2 separate regions of the Homo sapiens genome follow, and region 1 is linked to region 2. Evidence: promoter capture Hi-C in 16 types of primary human blood cells and fetal thymus (Javierre and others, 2016). All regions are on one chromosome and are shown on one strand. Each heading gives the region's core, a stretch centred on a gene start or on the middle of the fragment in contact. The rest is flanking DNA. Distances are from core to core; before and after follow the strand shown. Region 1 has its middle 12 kb from the start of KRTAP9-7. Region 2 holds the start of KRTAP4-5 (keratin associated protein 4-5).

The links. The method cuts DNA at HindIII sites, captures the fragments that hold promoters and counts their contacts. A CHiCAGO score of 5 or more calls a contact.
Region 1: a contact is called between a fragment that was not itself captured here and the fragment with the promoter of KRTAP4-5 in region 2, in 4 of 17 cell types (total CD4 T cells, naive CD8 T cells, non-activated CD4 T cells and 1 more). The highest score is 5.8, in total CD4 T cells.

The regions. Positions count from the first base shown.
Region 1 is chr17:41,284,849-41,290,039 of GRCh38, forward strand. No RefSeq gene overlaps it. Among named protein-coding and RNA genes, the nearest start is that of KRTAP9-7, 12 kb to the left of the region's middle. The HindIII fragment of the contact is 390 bases long and covers 3,133-3,522 here.
Region 2 is chr17:41,147,847-41,153,429 of GRCh38, forward strand. KRTAP4-5 (keratin associated protein 4-5) reads right to left here and starts at 1,979. Exons shown (of 1, transcript NM_033188.4): 1 at 1,078-1,979. The coding sequence starts at 1,921. The coding sequence ends at 1,376. The HindIII fragment of the contact is 5,677 bases long and covers 1-4,057 here.

The sequences.
Region 1 (5,191 bases), core at 2,078-4,577, 140 kb after region 2:
TGCCAACATTCACCCCAGCACTTGTCTTAACCCTGATTTTCCATGGTTCAACAATACTCTAATTTAACTTTCACATTTTTACATCTTCAATTAGACTTGAATCAATTCCTCAGACTTTGAATGCATACATCTTTTTAAGGTGACGCTACATAATTTGGTTTTGATCGTTTTGAACATAGGTTCCAAGTCTTGGATGATATCTGACTGTACCAATGCATTCTCATTCACACCATTGCATGGTGAGCATCCATGATGAAATTTATATTTGGTTTAGTTCATGTCTACCATCATATCTGTTGACTATTTGTAATATTTCTATTGCATGTCAGGATAACTTGGGCTTTGTTTATCTTTCTTATCTCACTAAGTCTTTAAAAAAAGATTACTGTGTGATACAGAGTTGTCATCATAGTGATAATGTAGAATTATCATCAGAGTGTTGGGTTGACTCTTATGATTTTGTGTGTGTCTTTGTTCATCTAATTATAATCTAACATCACCAACCTGTTATGAGTGACACACCACATACTTCTTCCTTCCTCCCTGCTGTGAGTTATAGTGGTGATTGGACTATAATTAATTTATTCTTCTTAGAATTTGAATTACACATAAAAGACAATCCCTAGGTTAGGCCCTCTAGTGCAATGTAATATTGTTATGGAAAGAACAGGGATTAATTTCAGAAAAACCAGCCTGTGTTTCCTACATTCAAAATAGGGAAAACTCGGCTCTTTCATCACTGGACACCTTCTCCTTGGAACCTCTTCTGACAGATGGTTCAGATAACACAGCTTGGGATTTTTCTTGTGAATATGCAGGAAACAAGAATGAATGTTATATTCTAAGATCAAACGCTGGGATAAATTTAATTAAATTGTAGGTTTGGAGATAACTAATGCAGAAAATATAGGATTAAAAATCAGAAATAAAATTAAAATGATTCCCACTTAAATAAACAAATATAGACATTATTCTAGAATATAAATCAAGAAAGCCTAAATTGGATAGATTGTATAAACTCGCTAAGGAAAGCATGCAAGCCTTATCCATCCTTTATTATCACTGCGTTCCACAGTGGCTGTGGCCTGTCCCAGACCAGAAAACCTTCAGATCCTCTTTCTAAACAAAAGCATTCCTTATGCAAGATAAGGACAAGGTAAAAACCAAGCTCTTCAGCCCCAGTCAGATTCCTGCTTGGAACAAAGATTAAGATGGAAAGGGTCAAATTTCAATAATCTTCTGCCCTTTAAGGTTGATTCCTAGCAAAATCAACCCAGTTTTTTCCAAGCATTCCCCTTTAAGTGCCCAATAGTAATAAATATAGCAAAGCATAAGTATACTTAATATATAAAACAAACCACTCACTAAGACCAACATTAAGTCCACTATGAAAGAACTGTACCTACACAAATAGGTGATGATAAGAATATAAGGGATTTCATTTAAGATCTACTGGTAAAATTATGATTAAGACATAAGAAAGGAGGACTTCTTAATATTACTTATATATTCAAAGAATAATATTTGAACAGAATTGTGTAGAAGGACAGCTGGAAAGGGGAATAGTGGCCCCAAATGGATGTAAACAGCATAGGAGAGAATTTAGTTTCTTTAAATGAGTTCTAGTTTCCTGACCGTGGACAAACTACTTCTCAGATACTGAGACATCTTCCAAGTGAGAACATTGAACACTGAGCTCTTTTTTTTTTTTTTTTTTTTTTTTTTTTTTGAGATAAGTCTCGCTCTGTCACCAGGCTGGAGTGCAGTGGTGCGATCTCGGCTCACTGCAACCTCCACCTCCAAGGTTCAAGCAATTCTCCTGCTTCAGCCTCCTGAGTAGCTGGGATTACAGGTGCCCGCCACCATGCCCATGTTTCACCATGTTGGCCAGGATGGTCTCGATCTCTTGACCTCATGATCTTTGGGAGGCCCACACTGGCCTCCCAAAGTGCTGGGATTACAGGTGTGAGCCACCACACCCAGCCAAGAACATTGAACTCTTATTGGTGATGTTTGAAGAATCGTGGGGAACCTAAAATTTGGGAGACTGGATCTATATTAGCATCAGAGAAAATTTTCATTCAATCTGAACTGATCAAAATAAGGATAGCTCCCTCTCCTTCAGGAAGCATTGAGCATGCCAGCATTTGCAAAATATATACCCGAACTTGAATTGCAAGAGCAGTTTTTTCCTTTTTGGCCCTGAAAATAACTTACAACATCCAAGAAGACTTTAAACAATCTATCTTTTACCTATTGCACAATTTGTTATTATACAATAGGGGGCTTATTGTTATTATTGTTGTTTGTAATGGTATTTCTAGGGCTTTCTATATTTCAAATGACTGACTCTTAATTCTGTTTAGTGCTGAATCACTGTTTTCCTCTTTCGTTTTTCTTTTAACTGGTAAATATTAACTTCCTTCATACAGCTCTGTCCTAAGACAGGTACAGCTAGCTTATTGGTGACAGCCGGACATGCTTGCACTGAATGACCGATGGTTTCCACTCTTCTTCTTTCCTCCTCTTTCCTAGTAGCTCAGTTCAATAAGGTTAAGCCCTTTTCTGATGGTTTGAGATACATTTAAAATGAATTTCTTATATTTATTTTTCTGGTGAAATAATATGTTATCAGGGAAACAATAGGGATTTGGCTTTTAAAAATTCATCATAGTCTTGTTAAAAAAAAAATTATTCAATGGCACTTGTGAAAGCCTGGTAAGGGAGACTTTATTCAGGAACACTGCAGTAAACAAAGGAACCACCATAACAGGGTCTTGCATTGGGAGACAGAGATTGGACTCATCTCCTAACATAGCATGGGCAAGTGAGAATTTACAGCCAAGGAGCAGGGTGGCGGTCAGTGGATGGAAAATTACTAAGAGGAAGCATCACCAGTAGGGAAATTTTGGCTAAACTGACCTAAAAGTGCTCTTGCTGAAGACAGGCGAGGGTGATCAAACATCACTTGGAGAATGGTGGCAGATAAGAGATCTGATCCGCTATTAAGGGTGATCAGATATCGAGGATGGGGAGTTCTTGCTAAACCTATTTAGCAGGGCTCTTTGCTAAAATTTTACAAAACTGGATTTTACAAGGAAGTGCACCCATGGGCCTATGAGAAGGTTCAGAAGCTTGACTAAACTATGGACAAGGAAAAAAATCTTCATTGGTCCTTACTGCCTTTTTAAAGAAACATTGGACTTCATGGCCACTAGTGAGGGTTTGGATTTAACTAATGAGTATCACTAGAAATTGGACATGCATGAGATTCACCATCCCTGTCCACCACCTCTGCTGATTGTCTTAATAACTGGTTAATTTTGCCACCTCTAAAATATCTTTCCTGCACATTTCTTCATTGTATTTATAATTTGAATTATCTTCTTTGCAACTAAGGCATTTCCCAATTTATCACCTAGTAATCTATACTCATCTTGCATATCCTTTCGTGACCTAGATTATGTGTGCAGTATATCCTTCATAAGCTCTTAAATTTAAAGGATATTTTATATTTTACAAAGCTTTTTCCCATTTTGGCCTGGCACAGTGGCTCACACCTGTAATCCCAGCACTTTGAAAGGCCAAGGCAGGAGGATCATTTGAGGTCAGGAGTTCGAGACCAGCCTGGCCAACATGGCAAAACCCGTCTCTACTAAAAATACAAAATTAACCAGGCTTGGCAGTGTGCACCTGTATTCCCAGCTACTCGGGAGGCTTAGGCACGAAAATCACTTGAACCTGGGAGGCAGAGTTTGCAGTGAGCTGAGATCGCGCCACTGCACTCCAGCCTGGGTGAAAGAGCAAGACTTTGTCTCAAAAATTAATTAATTAATTAATATTTTTAAAAAAACAAAGTTCTTTCACATCTATTCCCATGCCACTAAGTCAAGAGACTAATTTTTAAGACTTCGGGAAAGATCTATGGATCCCATCCATGCTGACTTAGAGCATAAGCAAATAGTTCATTTAAACAGCAACCCTTTAACCAGGCACAGTGGCTCACACCTGTAATCCTAGCACTTTGGGAGGCCAAGGTGGGTGGATCACTTGAGGTCAGGAGTTCAAAACCAGCCTGACAAATGTGGTGAAACCCCGTCTCTATTAAAAATGCAAAAAATTAGTGGGGTGTGGTGACACGCACCTGCAATCTCAGCTACTCGGCAGGCTGAGGCAGGAGAATCGCTTGAACCCAGGAGGCGGAGGTTGCAGTGAGCCAACATCAAGCCACTGCACTCTAGACTGTGCGACAGAGCAAGACTGTGTCTAAAAAGAGCAATCCTTGGATTTTGTTTGCAACAGCTCTAGACTATTTATCAGGAAATCACTACCATCAAATATTTTTCCAGTTCCAGCTAGGTTCAGGTGTTGCCAAGAAGTTTCTGATGAAGTGGGCTACAGGAGGGAACTTACTTCTAGATGTTATAGAACTATTGTTGTAAGATGAATTTATTTAGGTGGGCAAACTGATGAGACCAACATGAGTAACACCAAATGCCGTACACCACGCAGATGGGCAAGTTTCATGTTATACTGGGGACTCATGGGCTCATTACACCCATCTTTTGGGCCATTTTTATGTCTCAAATATCAGTTTTTATTCTGTTGTCTTAACTTATAGCCACTGAGATAACTCCCTACTGATATTTAGTTTCCAAGTTGACCTTTACAAGGCTGCCTTAACTTTGCCCCTTAACATCCTTTATCAAAGCCCATTACACGAATCCCACATTTGAGATTTCCAAAATAAGACAATCATGCATAGCTTTTCCTCAGGAATGGAACTTCTCAGGACAAGTCTGACGTGTACCCTAGTTATTAAATAGATAGGGAAACAATCAGAAAAATGACAGGGGAAATTTCATTCTAATAGACACTGGGAGAAAAGATGGCTTATGTTGACTTAATTCTTTTTAAAATACTTTACTGTGTGTGATTAGTATCCTAAGGCCTTTTAAAATACTTTTCAGTATACTATAAAGATGCCAGAGGGAGTTATAAGGAGCTATGGGCTGGGATTTGATTGAAAAAGTCCAAGTAGGTCAGGCGTGGTGGCTTGTGCCTGTAATCCCAGCACTTTGGGAGGGCAAGGCAGGCAGATCACTTGAGGTCAGGAGTTCAAAACCAGCCTGGCCAACGTGGTGAAACCCCATCTCTACTTAAAAAAATAAAAAATAAAGGCCAAGTAGAG
Region 2 (5,583 bases), core at 729-3,228:
GAAGGAAGGAAGGAAAGAAGGAAGGAAGGAAGGAAGGCAGGTAGGCAGGCAAGGGGAGGGGAGGTGGAGGGAAGGTAAAGGGATTAGAAGGGGAGGGAGGGGGAAGTAAGGAAACAAGAAAAAAGTACTTGAGCTAGGGAAAACACTCAAAATTTCCACAACAAATAATGGAACATACTGGAAGTAGAAATACAGTCAGACAAAATGTAGATGACTTCATGATGTTCAACTTGCTGGAGTTTTTAAGGGACACTTGAGGCATATACCAAAACTTAATTTTGAGTTGTAGAAGACAGCGCAACAATGATACAAATTTTCTTGCTGTTCTGTCAAAAAGAAAATTATGCTAAGATATTATTCTAGCCCAGGGTATTGTTTCAATCATAGTAACAGCAGAAATTGTATTTATTTATTTATTTATTTATTTATTTATTTATTTATTTATTGAGACAGAGTTGCTCTGTCACCCAGGCTGGAGTGCAGTGACATGATCTCGGCTCACTGCAACCTCCTCCTCCTGGGTTCAAGTGATTCACCTGCTTCAGCCTCCCAAGTAGCTGGGACTACAGGTGTGCACCAACACGCCCAACTAATTTTTGTACTTTCAGTAGAGAAGGGATTTCACTATGTTGCCCACACTGGTCTCGAATTCCTGGCCTCAAGTGTTCCACCCACTCAGCCTCCCAAAGTGCTGGGATTGCAAATGTGAGCCACCACGCTCGGCCAGAAACTGTATCCATTAAGAGCCTATACTGCATTATGTACCAGGCCCTGTGGTGAGTATATTACATGGGTTATGTCTCTTAACATTTAAAGAATGTAATGCATTATCTCTATTCACAGAGAAAGAAAACTGAGGCCTGAGGAGGTTAAAAAACTTGCCCCATGCCACGCAACAAATACCTAGGGGAGTCGTGATTCCAATGCAGGGAACATGAATCAAGAGCCCAGGCTCTTAAACATGCTCTCCTGCATTTGAAGAGAGATGGCCCTTGATGTGAACTGACAGGTAAAGACACACACACACACACACACACACGCACAATGAGATCACTAACAAATCAGAAGATTTCAATATTAGGGAAGTGGCTGTTTATTAATACATGAAAACAATATTATATGAGATCATCACAGTTAGTGTCCCCTTCGAATGAAGACACTGCTCATCTAAAAATAACTGCATTGGGGCCTGGCATAACATATTTTAATGAATGTGATTGTCTGTCATTTCCTAGAAGAGCTGAATGTCCACTCTGAATGCCACATGAGACAAACTGGCAGGGAAGTGTTCATTTTTCCAGTGACTGGCTGGCTACAGTGCATTTTAAATGACTAATGAAGACATTCATAGTATGACAAATATCACAAGGAGACATTAGCAGCAAGAGGAGGCACAGCACAAGGGGCGGGGGCAGGTGGAGATGACACAGGTTGGGCGATAGCAAGTGGTGTGGCAGGAGACTCGGCCACAGACTGGACGCACGCAGCAGCAGGGGCGGCAGCAGCTGGATTCACAGCAAGAGGGGTGGCAGCAGCTGGAGATGCAGCAGCTGGGACGGCAGCAAGTGGGCTGGCAGCACACAGACTGGCAGCACTGGGGTCTGCAGCAGCTGGACACACAGCAGCTGGGGCAGCAGCAGGTGGTCCTGCAGCAGGTGGTCCTGCAGCAGGTGGTCTGGCAGCAGCAGGGGCGGCAGCAGCTGGATTCACAGCAATAGGGGCGGCAGCAGCTGGAGATGCAGCAGCTAGGGTGGCAGCAGGTGGGCTGGTAGCACACAGACTGGCAGCACTGGGGCTTGCAGCAGCTGGGGCGGCAGCAGGTGGTCCTGCAGCAGGTGGTCTGGCAGCAGCTGGGGCGGCAGCAGTTCTCCAGGCCACAGCTCTGCTCAGAGCTGACAGAGCCACAACAGGAGCTGACCATGGTGTCAGAGGGTGGAGGTTCTGGGTGGATTTCTAGAAGAATGAGGTTCTCAAGTTTGGAAGTGTCCTTGGGCCACAGCCTCTTATATACTGCCCAGCTGTCTTGTTGGTACTACATTTTCCTTGTTTTTGTTTACTTAATAACTAAGTGATTATCAGATTACACAATAATGTTTGCCCATTTAATGGTTTAAACTTGTTGAAAACAAAATTTTCTTGTCCGGATGTAATAAGATCTATCATGTCTGCCTTCTCTCATGATTCACACCTCGGTAGCATCTTCTAGACCACGTTCTCTTCCTCTTCCTCCACAGAGGGCTGTTCATGTGATTCCCTGCATTTGGAATTGCATTTCTTACTCTCGCTTCAGGTACCCTCTACCAAAATGGGATTTGGTCAGTCACACTTCCAGTTATGCATTCCCTCTAGTGACCAATAGCGAGGAAAACCCATCTGCTCAGTGTGGCATTCCTAGTCTGTGGGTCATTATTAAGCAATAAGCAAAGGGATAGCAATACCTGCATGTGGCCTTGGTGACCTCTACACTATTGAAATGGGTTTCCCTGAATGTTTCAAATTTTGGGTCATATTCCATATCCTTAAATTTTTATACTTGGTGTTACTAATGGGTCAGTTTCTTAAATTGATACTTTGCTCTCCTATATTTTGTGTCATGTCTCTCCAGTTAATCTATTAGATTCCGGAAGACATAGTCCCATTTTTATTCCATAACTCATTGTTTTTTTTAAATGCCTCTAACTGTCTGTTAACATAATGCAGGTGTGTGTTTTCACTTTTTAAAAAAGAAATTTGAGATAATTGTAGATTTACATACAGCTGTAACAAACAGTCCCAGGAGAGGCTGTCTGTACTTCACCCAGGCTCCCTAACACTGTGTAACACCTGTATAATACTTTTAAGAATCTATCTACCCCCACTACTGTGTCTTGCATGATGTGCTTAATATAGAAAGAACTCAAGCTCAGTGAAATTAAAAACAATTAGTTATTTTTCAGATTGACGTATAATATTGTATTTACCACATACAACATAATATTTTGAAGTATATATACATTGTGGAAGGATTAAATCTAGCTAATAAATGCATTACCTCTCATACCTATCATTTTTTTGTGGTGAGAACGCTTAATATCCATTCTTAGAATTTTTCAAGAATACAGTATGTACAATATATCATCATTAACTATAGTCACTATGCTATACAGTAGACCTCTTGAACTGATTCTTCCTGTCTAGCTACAATTATATGTCTTTTGACCAGTATCTCCTCAAGCCCCTGACTCCCTAGCCACCCCTAGCCTCTGATTATCTTCATTCTCTGCTCTACTTCTATGATATCAACTTTTTTGAGTGCGATCATGTGAGTGAGATCATGTGCTATCTGTCTTTCTATGACTGATTTACTTCACTTAGCATAATTTCCTTGAGATGTATCCATGTTGTCACAAATGACAGAACTTCCGTCTTTTTACGGCCAAATAGTATTGCACTGAGTATATACTGCATTTTCTTTATCCCCTTACTCATTGGTGGACACTTGCACTGTGTGCATATCTTGGCAATTGTGAATAGTGCTGCAATAAATCTGGACATGCAGTTATTTCTTCAACATACTAAGTTCATTTCCTGTAGATATATAAGGTACCCAGAAGTGGATTGCTGGATAATACGGTAATTCCAGTTTTAATTTTTTGAGGAACCCTTATATTGTTTTCCATAATGGCTGAACTAATTTATATTCCCACCAACAGTGTACGAGGGAGTTTTTTTCACATCCTTGCCAATACTTGTCATCTTTTGTCTTTTTGATGATAACCATTCTAACAGGAATAAGGTGATATCTCAATGTGGTTTCGATTTGTATTTCCCTAATGATTAGTAATGTTGAGTACTTTTTCACAAACCTGTTAGCCATTTGTATGTCTTCTTTTGAGAAATGTCTAGTCAGGTCTTTTGCCCATTTTTAATCAGGTTTTTGTTTTCTTGCTTGTGAGCTGTTTGAGCTCCTTTTGTATTTTGGATGTTAACCCCTTATGAGATATATACTTTATAAATATTTTCTCCCATTCTGTAGGTTATCTCTTGACTCTTTTTGTGGTTTCCTTTGCTGTGTGGAAGCTTTTTAGTTTGATGTAATCTCAGTCATCCAATTTTTCTTTCGTCGCCTGTGCTTTTGAGGTCATATTCAAAAAGTCATTGCCGAGACCAATGTCATGAATCTTTCCCCCATGCTTTCTTCCAAAAATTTCATAGCCTCTGATCTTACATTCAAGCCATTAACCCATTTGAACTGATTTTTGCATACTGTAAGAAATAAGGGACTAATTTCATTCTTCTGCATGTGGATACCCAGTTTTCCTAACATAATTTATTGAAGAAACTGTCCTTCCCCCATTCTTGGCATCTTTGTTGAAAATCAATTGGTTATAAATGAGTGACTTTATTTCTGGTCTCTCTATTCCATTCCATTGGTCTGTGTGTCTGTTTTTATGTCAGAATGATGGTATTTTGGTTACTGCAGTGTTGTGGTTTATTTTGAAGTCAGGGAGTGTGGTGCTTCTAGCTATATTCTTAGTGTCCAAGATCACTTTGGTTTTTTGTGGTTCTATACAAATTTTAGAACTTTTTAAAAATATTTCTGTGAAGAATGTCATTGGTATATTTATAGGGATTGTGTGAGATCTGTAGATTGCTTTAATAATATTTGGACAATATTGGAATAAACACAGGATATCATTCCATTTATTTGTGTTTTCATCAATTTCTTTCATCTGTGTTTTACAGTTTTCAGTGTAGATATCCTCACTTCCTTGGTTAAACTTGTTCCTAAGTATTTTATTTTATTGTAACTATTGTAAATGAAATAGTTTTCTTGATTTCTTTTTCAGATGGTTTGCTATTAGTGTATAGAAAACCTACTGGGTTTTGCATGTTGATTTTATACTCTGCAACCTTACTGAATTTGTTTATTAGTTCTCACAGTTTCTCAGTGAAGTCTTTAGGGTTTTCTACATATAAGATCATGTCATCTGCAAATAGAAACAATGTAACTTCTTCCTTTCCAATTCAGATATTTTTAAAATATTTTATTCGTGTAAATGTATAATTTTGTTACATGGATATATTGCATAATGGTCGAGTCAGGACATTTAGAGTATCCATCACTGAAATAACGTGCATTCTACCCATCAAGTAATTTCTCATCATCCTTCCCCCTCCTACACCCCTGCCCTTCAGACTCTCCATTGTCTGTCATTCCACACTCTACCTCCATGTGTACGCATCATTTGGCCCCACTGTAACTGAGAACATGCAGTATTTGTCTTTCTATGTCTGAGTTGTTTCACTTAAGATAATGGCCTCCGGTTCCATCCATGTTTCTGCAAAAGACATGGTTTCATTATGTTTTATGGCTGAAGAGTATTCCATTGTTTATATATAGCACATTTTCTTTATCCAGTCATCCACTGATGGACATTTAGGTTGATTCCATATGTTTGCTACTATAAATAGTGGTGCAATAAACATATGTGTGCAGGTATATTTTTGGTATAATGATTTCTTTTCCTTCAGGTAGACACTCAGTCATGGGATTGCTGGATCAAATGGTAGTTCTAGTTTTAGTTCTTTGAGAAATCTCCA